Linked DNA regions of Homo sapiens: all the other regions are linked to region 2. Evidence: promoter capture Hi-C in 16 types of primary human blood cells and fetal thymus (Javierre and others, 2016). All regions are on one chromosome and are shown on one strand. Each heading gives the region's core, a stretch centred on a gene start or on the middle of the fragment in contact. The rest is flanking DNA. Distances are from core to core; before and after follow the strand shown.

What was found. The method cuts DNA at HindIII sites, captures the fragments that hold promoters and counts their contacts. A CHiCAGO score of 5 or more calls a contact.
Region 1: a fragment that was not itself captured here is called in contact with the fragment with the promoter of ZFP69B in region 2 in 10 of 17 cell types (naive B cells, total B cells, total CD4 T cells and 7 more); the score reaches 7.5 in naive B cells.
Region 3: a fragment that was not itself captured here is called in contact with the fragment with the promoter of ZFP69B in region 2 in 1 of 17 cell types (total B cells); the score reaches 6.2 in total B cells.
Region 4: a fragment that was not itself captured here is called in contact with the fragment with the promoter of ZFP69B in region 2 in 2 of 17 cell types (neutrophils and naive B cells); the score reaches 5.4 in neutrophils.

What each region holds. Positions count from the first base shown.
Region 1 is chr1:40,279,972-40,284,165 of GRCh38, forward strand. It overlaps ZMPSTE24 (zinc metallopeptidase STE24), which reads left to right. Exons shown (of 10, transcript NM_005857.5): 7 at 1,372-1,556. Among named protein-coding and RNA genes, the nearest start is that of ZMPSTE24, 24 kb to the left of the region's middle. The HindIII fragment of the contact is 308 bases long and covers 2,217-2,524 here.
Region 2 is chr1:40,448,644-40,452,938 of GRCh38, forward strand. ZFP69B (ZFP69 zinc finger protein B) reads left to right here and starts at 1,833. Exons shown (of 5, transcript NM_023070.3): 1 at 1,833-2,445. The coding sequence starts at 2,319. ZFP69B-DT (ZFP69B divergent transcript) reads right to left here and starts at 1,396. Exons shown (of 5, transcript NR_198977.1): 1 at 1,177-1,396. RefSeq lists a silencer at 1,452-1,711 and an enhancer at 1,927-3,126. The HindIII fragment of the contact is 15,908 bases long and covers 1-2,925 here.
Region 3 is chr1:40,201,094-40,204,993 of GRCh38, forward strand. It overlaps RLF (RLF zinc finger), which reads left to right. Exons shown (of 8, transcript NM_012421.4): 5 at 1,319-1,521. Among named protein-coding and RNA genes, the nearest start is that of RLF, 42 kb to the left of the region's middle. The HindIII fragment of the contact is 1,944 bases long and covers 644-2,587 here.
Region 4 is chr1:40,231,764-40,235,638 of GRCh38, forward strand. All of the region lies in intron 7 of RLF (RLF zinc finger), which reads left to right. Among named protein-coding and RNA genes, the nearest start is that of TMCO2, 14 kb to the right of the region's middle. The HindIII fragment of the contact is 2,314 bases long and covers 756-3,069 here.

The DNA of each region.
Region 1 (4,194 bases), core at 1,121-3,620, 170 kb before region 2:
ATGTTTCGTCTCACGTCACAGTCTGATAGAGAAATGGTTTGTTGTGTAAAATAAGAGAAGACGACACTTCAAAACAATGATTTTTTTTAATTTTTATTTTCGCTTAGCTCATGAAGCACCCACTTATCAGGCTTTTTCACCTTTCCAGTTTGCTTCAAATGCCAAACGACCGTAGAATGGTCGACATTGAGTTCTTCGGCAACTTCTTGTGTAGTTGTAAGGGGATCAGCTCCGATGATTGCTCTCCATTGGTCATTGTCAACTTCCGATGGCCTGCCACTACGCTCCTCATCTTCAAGGCTCTCATCTCCTTTGCAAACTTCTTGAACCACCACTGCGCTGTACGTTCGTTAGCAGTTCCTGGGCCAAATGCGTTGTTGATGTTGCGAGTTGTCTCTGCTGCTTTACGACCCATTTTGAACTCAAAGAAGAAAATTGCTTGAATTTGCTTTTTTTTTTTTCTTTCTTTGTGAGACAGAGTCTCCGTCTGTTGCCTAGGCTGGAGTGCAGTGGCGACATCTCTGCTCACTGCAACCTCCGTCTCCTGGGTTCAAGCAGTTCTCATGCCTCAGCCCCACGTGTAGCTGGGATGACAGGTGTGCGCCACCATGCCCGGCTAATTTTTTGTATTTTTGGTAGAGACAGGGTTTCACCATGTTGGCCAGGCTGGTCACGAACTCCTGACTTCAAGTGATCCGCCTGCCTCAGCCTCCCAAAGTGCTGGGATTACAGGCATGAGCCACTGCACCCAGTTGAATTTGCTTTTTGTCTAATATAATTTCCCTTATCTAAAATAAATATAAAATAAACAGCAAGTAATGTCATTAGCAAAAAACATAAAGTGAGAAATGTGCATTAAAATGATGTATAACATAACCATATTTATTTAAGAATGTATTCCAATATCAAACAGCAAATTTCAACAATGCAAAAACCGCAATTACTTTTGCACCAACCTAATACATGCACATTTTTTCTTGACGATAATGGAACCTGATATACGTGAAGTTTTGTATCCTTCACAATATATTGGTGAGCTTTTTCTTGTTAAAATTCTTTGGAAGTATAATTTTTTTCTGGCAGCTTAAAATTCCATTTCATAGTTTTACTATAATTGAATCATTTGTAACTGTTGGATGTTTAGGCTTTACTTATTTACTTACTGCTATAAAGCTGTGATGAGCACATTTATTGGCAAAAAACAGACACTCTCCACTGCTGGTGGTGAATTATGTTGATATGATTTTTCTTCACATATTAAATGATTTGAAAATGTTAATGTCCTTTCCAGTAATTCAATTTCTAGGAGTCTCTCCAAAGGACCCCAAACTTTTTAATTATATTCCATGCTTTGAACTGTCTTTTCCTTAGGATCTAAACGCTCTTCCCACAGCAATGCTTATTTTTATGGCTTCTTCAAGAACAAGCGAATAGTTTTGTTTGACACTCTACTAGAAGAGTACTCTGTACTAAACAAAGACATCCAGGAGGATTCTGGCATGGAACCCCGCAATGAGGAAGAAGGGAACAGTGAAGAAATAAAAGCTAAAGTTAAAGTGAGTTATTTTTTCCTAAGAGATTCTACCTTAGTTTTTATACACAGTTCCTGTGACAACTCAAAATAACATCAATTTCTAGGCAGTGAGTGTTGAATTCAGGGAGACTATCAGATGAAAACCATGGCTCCTTTATAGTTCTGGTATTTAGGAGAGATCACCACTATTATTACATGCTAACTACCTTGCAAGCTTTTATAGAATGTGGATATTAAAATTGGAAGCTCTTATAAGAAAATTCATATGATTATAAGCTATCTTTAAAACAGGAACTTGTGTGTATATATATATATGTGTGTGTATATATATATATAATTTCTTATGTGTTTATGATCAAAGAATTCCCACAAGCAAGATAAAGAGAAGATAAACATCTAATTTTTAGCTTTATTAAGACAGTAATTGTAGGCTTTGGCAATGGAGAGACTTGGATTTGAATCCTGGTTCTGTCATTTAGTAGCTTTGTATCCTTGGATACGTTGTGTAATTTAGTCTGTTTTATTTGTTTAACACCCATTTATGAAATGTATACTCTGTGCTGAGAGACTTTACTTGGCACTAGGTACACAAAAATAAAAAGGAATACCTTCCTCTTAAGCTTACAGTCTAAAGGGGAAATAGTCATGCAATCACAGTACAATACGTGAATTGCTACTGTCAAGCTTTAGATTCTAGATATAGTAACTGGAGCACAAGAAAAGACATTTCTCAAATCTGACATGAGAGTCTGAGAAAGCTGCTTCTGAATCCTTTTCGTGGATAAGATTGACTGATATTGATTAGCAGAATTTAAAGTATCAAGACTAAATGGGGGAGAGGGGACAATGATAAGAAACAATACAAACTGTCAGAAATGATCATCAGTATTTGTATGTGTGATGGAATGTGCCATTGCCTTTGGTGTCATACAGAGATGATTTTAGATGCCTGTTCACTCACTGTCTGTGTAACTCTGTGCAAGTAAGTTAAGCTTTCATTTATTTATGTATTTATTTATTTTGAGATGAGGTCTTGTTATGTTTTCCAGGCTGGTCGAACTGCTGGCCTCAAGTTACCCGCCTGCCTTGGCCTCCCAAAGTGCTGGGATTATAGGCGTGTGCCACCGCACCCCGCCAAGCTTTCTAAATCTTTGATTTCTTAACTGAAAGATGAGGCCAGTAGGGTTTCTCAAGCCCCACGCTATTTTTTTGAGCCAGATAATTTTTTTGTTGTGGGAGGTATCTTGTGCATCACAGGATGTTTAGCAGCATCCCTGGTCTCTCCCCACTAGGGGCCATTTCCCCTACAACCTCTACAAATTGTAACAACAAAAATGTCTCAGAATATTGCCAGATGTCCCCTAAAGGTAGCGGTGGGGCCGAGTCTCCCCTGGTTGAGAAATACTAGGCTAAAGATACCTACATTTTAGGGTTTTGAAGATTAAATGAAATAATATGTGTGAAATACCTTGTACTCTCTACCCAAATGTAGAGAGTACCAGAAAATGATTAGCATCTGAGCATCTGTTTTGACACTAAAAACAGGTTCTAGTAAAGTACCTAGCCTGTTATAAATACGTAGATGAAATAAAATTCTGTGAAGGGATTAGAAGACATCTTAAAGTCATCTTATAAATAGGAAAACTGAAGTCCAGAAAGAATAACCCAGTGATAACACTAGAGAATCATGCAAGTTTAGAAAGTTAATCTGCTTATGGTCAGGCACTGTGGCCCATACCTGTAATCCCAGCACTTTGGAAGGCCAAGACAGGCAGATAACTTGAGGCCAGGAGTTCGAGACCAGCCTGGCCAACATGACGAAACCCCTGTCTCTACAAAAAAATACAAAAATTAGTTGGGCATGATAGCGCACGCCTGTAATCCCAGTACTCAGGAGGCTGAGGCACAAGAGTTGCTTGAACCTGGGAGGTGGAGGTTACAGTGAACTGAGATCCTGCCTCTGCACTCCAGCCTGGGTGACAAAGTGAGACCCTGTCTTAAAAAAAAAAAAAAATTGCTGATCCTTTTGTTACTTTTTTTGTTTTTGTTTTTGTTTGCTTTTCTGGAAGTTTGTTAGATCTTTCTCTGTTTCAGTGTTCTAAAATTTCACATACCTTGATGGGGATCTGTTTTCATCTACCATGTTATATGCATCACACTGTTTTCATCCACTGTAATATATGCATTAGGCCCTTTTATTCTGGAAATCGAGGTCCTATGGTTGTAAGAAATTTTCTGAAATTATTTTGTTGATTTTTCTCCTCTCCATTTTTTAAATTCTGTGTTTTCAGGGCTCCTCTTACTCGAGTGCTGGATTTGTTATACTGAACTCTCCTATCTTTTTAACCCTCTTTTCCATTTTAAATATATCTCTTTCTGCTTTCTAGAATTCCCTCATCATCTTCCAATCCTTTATTGTATTGAACTTTCTTTCTTTTTTTTTTTTTTTTTGAGATGTAGTCTTGCCCTCTCGCCCAGGCTGGAGTGCAGTGGCGCGATCTCAGCTCATTGCAACCTCCTCCCGGGTTCAAGCAATTCTCCTGCCTCAGCCTCCTGAGTAGCTGGGATTACAGGTGTGCACCAGCATGCCCAGCTAATTTTTTTTTTTTTTTTTTTTTTGGTATCTTTAGTAGAGACGGGGTTTCACCATGTTGGCCAGG
Region 2 (4,295 bases), core at 583-3,082:
TTCCAGTGGTTTCTGTGATGACAAAATAAGTTAAAATATGAAAGGCACTTAGGACAGAGCCTCATATTCTGTAACTATTATATGCTAGTGTATTCATCAGCTTGGGCTGCTGTAACAAAATACCATTGACTGGGTGGCTTAAACCACGGATATCTGGCCGGGCGCAGTGGCTCATGCCTGTAATCCCAGCACTTTGGGAGGCCGAGGCGGGCAGACACCGAGGTCAGGAGTTTGAGACCAGCCTGGCCAACATAGTGGAACCCCGTCTGTACTAAAAATACAAAAAATTAGCTGGGCGTCGTGGCGGGCGCCTGTAATCCTAGCCACTTGGGAGGCTGAGGCAGGAGAATCGCTTTAAGCCAGGAGGCGAAGGTTGCAGTGAACCGAGGTCACGCCACTGCAGTCCAGCCCTGCGGACAGTGCGAGACTCCATCTCAAAAAAACAAACAAACAAACAAACAAAAAACCGGAAATTTATTTTCTCAGTGTGGAGACTAGAAGCCCCAAGTAAGGTCGAGTTGGGTTCGTTTCTGACTAGGACTATATTCTAACCTTAATTACTTCCATAAAGGCCTTATCTCTAAATACTCTCCAAATACAATGGAGGTTAGGGCTTCAAGATAAATTTTGGGGAATCCAAACATTCGGTTCATAACAGCTAGCAAGTACTATAATTGTATTCTATTTCCTCATTTGTTGTTTTTGTAAACTGTTGATGTAGAAATGTATTTGGAGTGATGTACTCAAATTTTGTTGGAGGGAGAAAACTCAGCAATAAAACAGCATTACAGTATAATCGCTTTTGTGGAAAATATATAACAATGCATGAAATACGTTGTGTGTGTGCAGGAAAGGTTGTACACCAACTGTTAGCAAGGTTACCGCTGCTTGCTGAAATTACAGGCAATAATTTTTTTGTTTTTGTGTATTTTCTGGCATTTCAGAAATACAAGGTAAGCAATAAACATGAGAACTTTTATTGAATACTAGAAGAGAAAACTGTTGTGGTATTCTTTTAACAATATACCGGAATCCATTCAACTGTCTGCTGAGAATAAATAACTGGCATGTACATAATATTTAGGGAAAGTGCTATGGATTATTTTACACCAGTGTCGTTTCACCAAAAAACGTGATGCCGATGGCTCCCTTTTGTCACGGGTTTCAAAGGCTCACCCTAACGTTCACGTGCATTTTCCCAGCGGAGGAAAGATGGTTGTTCTTCATCAGAGTCTGGGGCCCAAGAACGCAGGCTCCATCTCCTCCCGCAGGAGCCAGGCTGATGATGCTCGCAGGGATCGGATACTGGGAGCCCCTGAACGCAGCCAACCCGGCGCGCACCGGTGGGGGCGTCTGCGCTGGCGGAGCGGCTCCCCGGGAGGACGCTGGGAACCATGCTCTAGCCAGCCGCTGCGCAGGCGCACTGGGCCCCGACTGCCCGCCGCAGCGCTACGTGGGAGCTTGGCCGCGCAGTGCCGGAACCCGGCTGCAGCGGTGGGAAGGCGGGGGCGTGCCGGCCCAGCGGGGAGAGGGTGAGCGGGTGGCTGTCCCGGGCTTGGGGAGCTGGGCGAGCCGGGAAGCGCGAGTTCCGCCCGCGGCCACCCTGTCGCGCGCGGTGCTCTCCGCAGCCCCGGAGTCGTGCTCAGACAAAGGCTGGGAGGCTAGGGCCGGGGGCGTTTTGCTTTGTGGGGAGGACTTAGCCTCTCATTTGGGGAGGAGGAGGCGGGGTCTAGCGGTTTCGCGGTTTGCTACAGCCGACTAGTGAAAGAGCTGGGATTCCAAATCCCCGGCTACTTTACACATAATTACTGCCCCAAACAAAGAATTGGGTTGTATTCGTCTCTTTGTGCTTCCTGACATGTGCGCGGTGCTTTGAATTTTGTGGGCTGTGTCTGCCCACCGTCTCCGTGTATCTTTTGGAAACATTTTACAGTGATCCATATATGTTCTAGCGTTCTGCCCTATGACTGAGCCTCCTTAGTCCTTTGCTGATTCTAATGTCTTCTGCTCAGCATCTGCAGGGGCTGCTGAGAGTAAATACTTGGCGCCTCCAGCTGCTGGCCAAGGAGACAGATGGAGCTCAAGTTGGGAGATACGCCCTGAGAGCCGATGATAGACACAAGTCCAGATCTCGGATTTTGATACTGTATGTTCCCTGGGTTCCTGAGAGAGGACATTGAGGAGTAGGAGTCGGCGATTAAGGAGATCGGTACAATTGGGAAGCCTCCTGTCAGAGCTTCCAGCAATTTCCTCATCAGAGGTGGACAAGCCCTATGGGCTAAGACAGAGGGTCCTCAGAAAGGAGTGCGGACGCCGTCATGCTGCAGCAGCTCCTGATCACCCTGCCCACCGAGGCCAGCACCTGGGTGAAGTTGCGTCATCCAAAGGCGGCCACGGAGCGGGTGGCCCTGTGGGAGGATGTGACTAAGATGTTTAAAGCAGAAGGTAAGAATAAACTGATGGGTGGGAGGGAGGAAAAGCAGTCCCCTCTAGTGTGAGAAGGAATGAGTCACTTGAGTGGAAGCATCTCTTAGGGAGACGAGTGGGTGGAGGGTTTCCGGAGTTGTTGATTGTGGCTCCTAGTCTGGGGTTTTCCTAAGTAGTGGTGGTCTTTTCAGCCTAGGACCAGTATTTCAGTGTCATGGTTATGTATATTATTTATTTTCATCTTTCCCATGGCCATGTGGGGCAGGATGGACTTAACCTGATTTTTCTTATTCTAACAGTGGGGAAATGTAAATCAAATGGGAGGCCTGCCCAGGGTCACACAGGAACTTGGTGGCTAGGTCAGAAAGAGAAGCAGCAGGGGAAGTACCAGGTGAGCCTGGAGTAACTTGTGCTAGAAAGCAAGGAAGAGCTTAAAGACTATGGATATGTGTCAAAAGAGGCCAGGTTTAAGGGTCTCTCACTCGACAGATTTGGGAAAGCTTAAGTATCCAAACTGATGGTAACACCTTGAATAAGTAAAATTCCACATGATCACCTTGACACTTAAAATAGAGAAAGACGTGGGGGGGGGGGAATTCATTTGCAAACATTGGAGGTAATTAATACACTGATTCCTTACTTTGAAAAATAGGTTATTATGGGAATGAATGTGCATTTACCTTGCCTTTTAGATCCTCTTCAGTTGGTGAGGGAAAGCTTTTTACAGAAAATGCGTGCCAATAATGAAGGTAGAAAGAGGCCAGGTGTGGTGGCTCATGCCTGTAATCCCAGCAATTTGGGAAGCCAAGGTGGGCGGATTGCTTGAGACCAGGAGTTTGAGGTCAGCAGTTTGAGACCAGCCTGGCCAACATGATGAAACCCCATCTCTGCTAAAAATACAAAAATTAGCTGGGCGTGGTGGCACATGCCTGTAATCCCAGCTACTCGGGAGGTTGAGGCACGAGAATCGCTTGAACTAGGAAAGGGGAGGTTTCAGTGAGCTGAGATGGCGCCACTGCACTCCAGGCTGGGTGACAGAGCAAGACCTTGTCTCAAAAATAAATAAATAAATAAATAAATGTAGAAAGAATGATAGAATCTTTTACCGTAAATAAAATAATTGAAAGGTTAATGGGGAACAGATACTCACATGATATCAAAGTATTATCCCCTCAAATTACTTACTAAATGGCAAGGAATGAACATAATTTTCCAATAGTGAGGTGTGGTGGTCACAGTTTTAATCAAATGTCTCAGTAATGGGATAGCCGGGCATTTTATACTTTGCAGATACTGTAATATAAAGCACCTGGTACCACCTACAAGGTATTCCTACCAAAAATGTTGAACATGATCCTAAATTAAGTTTAAAGACTGAACTGCTGGTTTACAGAAAATACAGGGGATGGAGAAATGAGATAAACCTCACATTGAGGATACAGTCAGACTGTTCTTGTATCTTAAAAAGACAACATCATGAAGAAAGGGGAAGTACTTATTCTAGAGTAAAAGAGACTAGAGGTAACAACCACTTTGAATGTGTGAGCCTTGATTAACTCCTGGTTTGGAAAAAATCCAGAATAAAAGTTGAGGAAACAGTTGAGGAAATCTGAATATGGACTGAATATTTAGATGATACTATGGAATTATTGTTAATTTTCATAGATTTAATAAATAGTACTGTGGTTGTACAAGAGAAGATCCTTATTTGAAATATTTAGGGATAAAGTATTATGATGCAGACGACTTTGAAGTGCTTCAGAAAAAATGTAGATAGGTAAAGCAAATATGGTAAATATTAACAATTGTTGAATCTAGATGTGGATGTATAGATGTTCAATATTCATGATAAAAAGTTGGAATAAAAT
Region 3 (3,900 bases), core at 366-2,865, 250 kb before region 2:
GGGAGCTTGTGAGAAAAGCAAAATTTCAGGTCCCAGACCTAATAAATCAGAATCTGCATTTTAATAAGCTCCCTAGGTGATCTAGGCACTTTCAAGTCTGAGAGATACTGTTTTAGATTAACCACCTAAAGCAGTTTGTTTACTCACCACTTGGCTTGACATGCAATATTCTCACCTCTATTCTTTAAGTAATACTATGTAGTGATGTCACATACTTGTTGGATATTTACTATTCAAAAATTGAGGGCTCGGCCGGGTGCGGTGGCTCATGCCTGTAATCCCAGCACTTTGGGAGGCCAAGGCGGGTGGATCATGAGGTCAGGAGATCGAGACCATCCTGGCTAACAACGGTGAAACCCCGTCTCTACTAAAAATACAATAAATTAGCCGGGCATGGTGGCGGGCACCTGTAGTCCCAGCTACTCGGGAGGCTGAGGCAGGAGAATGGCGTGAACCCGGGAGGCGGAGCTTGCAGTGAGCCAAGATCGCGCCACGGCACTCCAGCCTGGGTGACAGAGCAAGACTTCATCTCAAAAAAAAAAAAAAAAAAAAAATTTGAGGGCTCATCCAGAGCACTGTACAGTCAATGCCAAGTGCCTAATATTCAGTACAGCTCAGAAGTACTGAGCTTCAGTACTTCTGAAGCTTTCAGAGTAGCATTTTCCAAAGTGTGTACTGAACCAGGAACACATGTTTTACAGGTTACTAATATGTATAAAAGGGTTCTCTGGTCAAATCAGTTTAGGAAACATTGGGTTTTTAAATAAAAGTGAACAGTTTTCTTTATTGCAGGACTGTTCAGAGATTTGACCAAGGAATCCTTTTTTTTTCTAGGACTATCTCTCAGGTCTTTTGGTCGGTGGAACACACTTTGAGAAATGCCTGGTTTAGAGGAAAGAGCACCACTGGCTTTGGAATCCTTGGCAAGTTACCTAACTTCTGTGAATATTAATTTTCCTAACCTTAGACTGGGGATAATAATACTTGCCTTGGTGGTGGTGTGAAGAATAAATGAGAGGTATATAAAAATATGCAGCTTAAAACTTGATGTCTCGTAAGCATTCAGTTGATAGTTGTTAATATTACATAGGTTACTTGCTTCATTTCTTGCATTTATGCTTATAGTTCATTTCACTATTTCTTAATTTTCCTCTCATCTCTATTAGATGAATATTGAGACCAGAGTAAACTTCTCATTTATATAAACTAAATTTTTATTAACTAAAAATCAAATAAAAAGATCTCAAACTTTCATCTTAGCAAGTCTGACATGTTATGTGGTATGTTGTCAAACTGTTTTATTTTTCATTTTTTCTAGTCAATAAATTGATTGCACAAGAAGGACCTTCCTTTCTGCAAATGCGAATAAAACATTTGTTGAAATCTAACTGCATCCCCCAGGCTACTGCTTTATCAAAACTATGTGCAGAATCTAAAGAAATTTCAAATGTGTCATCTTTTCAGCAAGCCTATATCACATGTTTATGTTCTATGCTCCCTAATGAAGATGCTATTAAGGAGGTGAGTAAATAATTGTTGTCATTCAAACTTGGTATTAATTTAATAGATTTATATATATATTGCATGGTTTATTTTTTCCCTTTAGAATGAAAACCAAGATTCATTTTTTTCAGGCTACCAAAATGTATGATTTTAATTGTATATTTAACTGCTCGACAGATAGAATGTAATATTTTAGAGTGAATTTGAAAAGTAGATAACTAAAGAATATACAGAGGCATGTTTACTTATTTGGGTGATGATTTGCTGTGAAATCTTTAAATGTGAAAGTTGTTTTTTCTTTTTAAAGTAATGACGTCTCCATGTTTGGGGAATGCAGAAGTTGTTAATCATGGCATCAAGGGATAAACTAAAGAAAATGGCACTTAATTTTAGCTTAAGTTACTTTATATATTTAATTTTGTAAGCAGAAAAGTATAGGACTCTAGATTCCATGACTACATCCTGAACAATTAAGTGGCCAAACTGGATATCATGGAAAATAAGGGTTGAGTCTTTTTTTTTTTTTTTTTTTTTTTGAGACAAGGTCTTGCTCTGTCACCCAGGCAGGAGTGCAGTGGTGCAATTTCGGCTCACTGCAGCCTCTGCCTCCCGGGTTCAAGTGATTCTTGTGCCTCAGCCTCCCAAGTAGCTGGGACTAAAGGCATGCGCCACCATGCCTGGCTACTTTTTGTACTTTTTAGTAGAGACGGGGTTTCACCATGTTGGCCAAGCTGGTCTTGAACTCCTGACTTCAACTGATCCACCTGCTTCAGCTTGTACTACTAAAAGTACAAACATTAGCCAGGCATGGTGGTGGGCGCCTGTAATCCCAGGTACTCAGGAGGCTGAGGCAGGAAAATCGCTTGAACCCGGGAGGTGGAGGTTGCAGTGCATCGAGATCGTGCCACTGCACTCCAGCCTGGGTGACAAGAGTGAGACTCCATCTCAAAAAAACAACAACTATTTTATGTATCAGATTGCATCCTTTAAAAAAAAAAAACCTCAATTATTATGTTTCTTAAATTTGGAGTTAGACTTCTCTAATGGTTTTTGACATTATACAGAAAAAAACTAGAGATTCTTAAGCTTTATTTCATCATCTACCTTTAATCCTCTTATCTGCCATTCAATTCTGACATATGGATTCTTACTCTGAACTGAAATTTTTTATTAGATGTAGTAGTCCCAAGGATCTGGTTTTATGCTGTAGTAATTCTGAAACTTTTACTTGTAATATCTTACTCTCCAAATACAATTGTCTATCTTTCTACCTTACTCCCTTTAATATACAGTCTCCACCAGGATCAATCAAGATCTATTGATCTTGTCACCTTTTCATTTTCCCTTATCCCCCTTATGTATTCACTTCCCTATTTAACTCTGCTTTGTCATTGTCAGATCATCATTATCACTCTCAAAGAGCGAGAGGTCCTCTCTCTTTTTTTTTTTTTTTTTTGACAGAGTCTCGCTCTGTTGCCCAGGCTAGAGTGTAGTGGCGCGATCTTTGCTCCTGGGTTCAAGCAATTCTCCTGCCTCAGCCTCCCGAGTAGCTGGGATTACAGTCGCCCACCACCACGCCTGGCTAATTTTTTTGTATTTTTGTAGAGATGGGGTTTCACCATCTTGGCCAGGCTGGTCTTGAACTCCTGACCTCATGATCCACACGCCTCGGCCTCCCAAAGTGCTGGGATTACAGGCGTGAGCCACTGCTCCCGGCCACTGGTCTCTCTCTTAATTGTACTTGTTTGACTACCAGTATCCTGATTATCCCTAAATCTTCACCTACTCTATGTGTTTACCTGCACTCATGGGGCCAAATTTACATGGAGAAAAATCTGCCAGCTAATTTTACTCCAGGCTAGAGTGTGGTGGCGCACACTGCTCACTGCAGCCTCAAAATCCTGGGCTCAGGTGATCTTCCCACCTCAGCCCCTGGAGTAGCTAGGACCACAGAAACATGCCACCATTCCCGATTAATTTATTTTTTATTTATTTTTTATTTTTTTGGAGAGACAGGGTCTTGCCATGTTGCCCAGGCTGGTCTCGAACTCCCAGGGTCAAATGATCCGTCCACCTCAGCCTCCCAAAGTGCTGGGATTACAGGTGTGAGCCACTCACTGCACCCAGCCTATATTTCTTTAGCCCATTCATTCTCCCACTCTTAGATAGTTGCATAGTTTTTTCTTATTCTTCAAAACTATACTGTAATACTTTCTGCCCTGTTTCACTCTCTGTTGCTGAACTTAACTCCCTATTTCTCTGAAAAAAATTGAAGCGCTGAGAAGATAAATAAGAGAATTTTCATAAGCTCTGTCTCTGAAACATCTATTCATCTACCAGCATCTATGAATGTACATCTTCTCTTCTGTTACTAGAGATAAATTATATCTGTTCTCC
Region 4 (3,875 bases), core at 663-3,162, 220 kb before region 2:
TTTTAATAAGATTAATGGAATTGACCACATCTGACTGTTTCTCCAGATTGACTTCCTATAATTAATCAGAAACAAATTGATGGTCAAACAAGTTAGGTGATATTTATTTCTAATTACTGTGAATGAAGTTGTGTCTCCTGTCACGTTAAGAACATTTTAAGAGGCCAGGCACGGTGGCTCAAGCCTGTAATCCCAGCACTTTGGGAGGCCAAGGCGGGTGGATTACTTGAGCTCAGGAGTTCGAGACCAGCCTGGCCAACCTGGTGAAACCCCGTCTCTACTAAAAATACAAAAATTAGCCGGGCATGGTGGCGGGCGCCTGTAATCCCAGCTACTTTGGAGGCTGAGGCAGGAGAATCGCTTGAACAGGGAAGGCGGAGGTTGTGGTGAGCCAAGATTGCACTGCTGCACTCCAGCCTAGGTGACAGAGTGAGACTTGGTCTTTTTTTTTTTAAAAAAAAAAAAAAGAACATTTCAAGGTAACTATAGAACTTGCCTGTTTAAACAATTACTTTATAATTGGCCATTAGAACATTTTGTTTTGTTTAAATCTTTAATAAAGGTACTAATTTTCTATTGTTGAATAACATCACAAAAATTAATACTTAAAACAATGTCCGTTTTTATCAGTTCAGTTTTGTAAATCAGAAATCCAGCACAATGTGGCAGGATTCTCTTCTAAGATTATCATATTGGCTAAAATGTAGTTTGCCAGGCTAAGTTCTATCAGAGGCTCTGTGGAAAATCCACTTCAAAGCTTATTCTTATCGACAGGTTTCAGTTCCTGTGGTTGTAGGACTAAGGTTTCTGTTTTCTGGCTGGCTGCCAATCAGGGTCTGTTCTCAGGTGCTAGAAGCTACACTCAGTCTTTACCTCTGTTTTCAAGCAGCAAGGGTGCAACAAGTTGGTGCTTGAAACCTGACATCCTCCATCTCTGACTTTAGTTTTCAGTTTTTGGTTGAGACAGGTCTCGCTCTGTCACCCAGGCTGTAGTGCAGTGGTGCGATCATAGCTCATTACAGCTTCAAACTCCTTGGCTCAAGCAATCCTCCCGTCTCAGCCTCCAGAGTAGCTGAGATTGCAGGCGTGTGCCACTATACCTGGCTTTTTCTTTTTTGGCGGGGAGCAGTGGTAGATACAGGGTCTTGCTTTGTTGCCCAGACTGGTTCTGAACTCCTGGCCTCAAGCAATTCTCCCACCTCAGCCTTCCAAAGTGCTGGGATTATAGGTGTAAGCTGCCCCACCTGCTTGAACTTGGGAGGCAGAGGTGGCAGTGAGCCGAGATCACACCATTGCACTCCAGCCTGGGCGACAGAGTGAGACTCTGTCTCAAAAAAAAAAAAAAAAGCAAAGATTGAATGACTTGGCTATATCCTATGTGCGCTTGCAACAGTATGCCAAGTCACTCTTGATCCCTCACCTTCCTAGTTTAAGACCCACCAATTTCTTCAAAATTCAGCTCCACATTGCATATCCTGATTCACATTTATTCACTACTCCTTTCAGTAACTTTTTGGCATATCTGTTCAGAATATATAATAGTATTTCTGGTTACTTTTCTTTGAAAAATGTTGTTAGTGATTTTTCAAATGTTACCATCCCAGCCAGATTAGGCTGTTTAAGAAAGAATGGCCATTCTTTGCTGTCCACCTCACAGTCTTCCAAAAGGAGTTAGTAACTTGTTGAGAAACTGAATTATTTTAAAATTTAGCTGACTTTCCCCAAGTCCTCTCTGCTCTTACTTACAAATGATAAACTTCTATCACATCATCCTAATAAGTCAAGAGACCCATGGTCTAGTCCTGTGGAGCCACTAAAGCAACATGGCCTGTTTTACTTGGACTACATTCCAAATGAGAGGGAGAAACTTCTATATTCTTTAGGCCACTACTGTTGTGGGAAGTCTGCCACTCACAACAGAACCAGATCCTAGCTGATACAGGCTAGGTAATGCCTCTCTTTCAAAAAAGCTAGAGTCTCAGCTCGTCTGAAAGGTAGGGAGTTATCTCAATTGATTGTTCACAGTCAGTTACAGACTGAACTCTGTTCTACTCTTTCCCCCTTCTCACTATTACACTTGACTAGTTTTAAAGAAAAAAAAGTTGGAGTCTCAGTTTGCAAGGGATTCTACACTCACTCACTCCCTTTTCACCTACCAGTCCACATCTCTTCTACTCTTCAGGCCAAATATCTTCTTTTTTTTGAGACGGAGTCTCACTCTGTTGCCCAGGCTGGCATGCAGTGGCGTGATCTCAGCTCACTGCAACCTCCGCTTCCCAGGTTCAAGGGATTCTGATGCCTCAGCCTCCCAAGTAGCTGGGGCTTTGGGCCTGCATCACCATGCCTGGCTAATTTTTTGTATTTTTATTAGAAATGGGGTTTTGCCATGTTGGCCCTGCTGGTCTTAAACTCCATGCCTCAAGTGATGTGCCTGCCTCGGCCTCCCAAAGTGCTGGGATTACAGGTGTGAGCCACTGTGCCCGGCCTAAATGCTTTTAAGTCCTTGCTCCTCTGCTCACTAGTTAGTGACATTGGGCAACTTAACGTTCTGAGTGTTGGGGGTTTTTTGTCTATAAAATGAGGATAATACGTGCAAAAAAGTTTATTTCAAATAAGTGCCTAGGCTGTAGTAGGGGTTCTGTAAATCAATGACAGTGATTTCTTTGTGTTCCCAGCATTTAGAATGAATGATGCCCAACACAGAATTAAATGCCTGGCAAATTGTTTACTGATTTAAACAGTGGAATTTACTCCATTATTTTACATTGTATTCTGTTAAATAGTTACAATGTGCCAGCGTTATTATTTCATCTTTATAACCTTAGGAGGAAAATCTGTTATTAACATTACTGTTATCATTTTACCAATAAGGAAACTGAAGTTTAGAGGTTGAGAACTTGTCACTTGTTGTGAAGCTGGGGTTCAAAGGCAGTCAAAGTCTGATTCTAAAGTCTCTGCTCATAGCAGTGCGTTTTAAGCCACTCTGACATATCTTGCTTTTCTTTGCTCATGTCATTTTTGTATTTTATTTCAGCCTCTCAGATAAAAAGAGTTATCTTGTATGTACCAAGCTTTTATCACATATGACCAGGTCTTCCTAATTTTAAACTAGTTTCTGAGAACCTGCTGCCATAGCAAGATTTCTGATTTCTGTTTTTTCCCTGGAAAGCTGAGATTCAGTACACCTGTGACGGTGACTATAAATTACCAGATTCTTTCAGGAGGAAATGGAAAGGATCATTTATTTTATCTTTGAAGTTTTGAAAAATCCAAGTGTTCATGATAGAGAGAATTTTTTTTTTTTTTTTTTTTTTTGAGACGGAGTTTTGCTCTTGTTGCCCAGGCTGGAGTGCAATGGTGTGATCTTGGCTAAACTGCAACCTCCACCTCCTGGGTTCAAGCGATTCTGCTGCCTCAGCCTCCGAGTAGCTGGGATTACAGGCATGCACCACCACACCTGGCTAATTTTGTATTTTTAGTAGAGACGGGGTTTCTCCGTGTTGGTCAGGCTGGTCTCAAACTCAGGTGATACACCTGCCTCGGCCTCCCAAAGTGCTGGGATTACAGGCGTGAGCCACCGTGCCCAGCCAAAGAGAATTTCTTAAATTGAATTTAATCTTAGACTCACATCTATACCTGTGTTTCCTGTTGCTGCCATTTTAAACCCTGCCCCTCTACTCAACATCATTCTATTTTGAATCCTCCAGTGACCTTTTTTATCCTGAATTTCTTTGGATTCACATGCATTTATTGTTTATGCATTCGGGGTACAGATAAATTCCTTGGAAGTAAGGAACTGCTTTAATACACAGTGCCTAGTAAATGTACATTGTTCGTAGTTGTAGCATCTAATTTAGTTCTTTGCATGTTGAGAC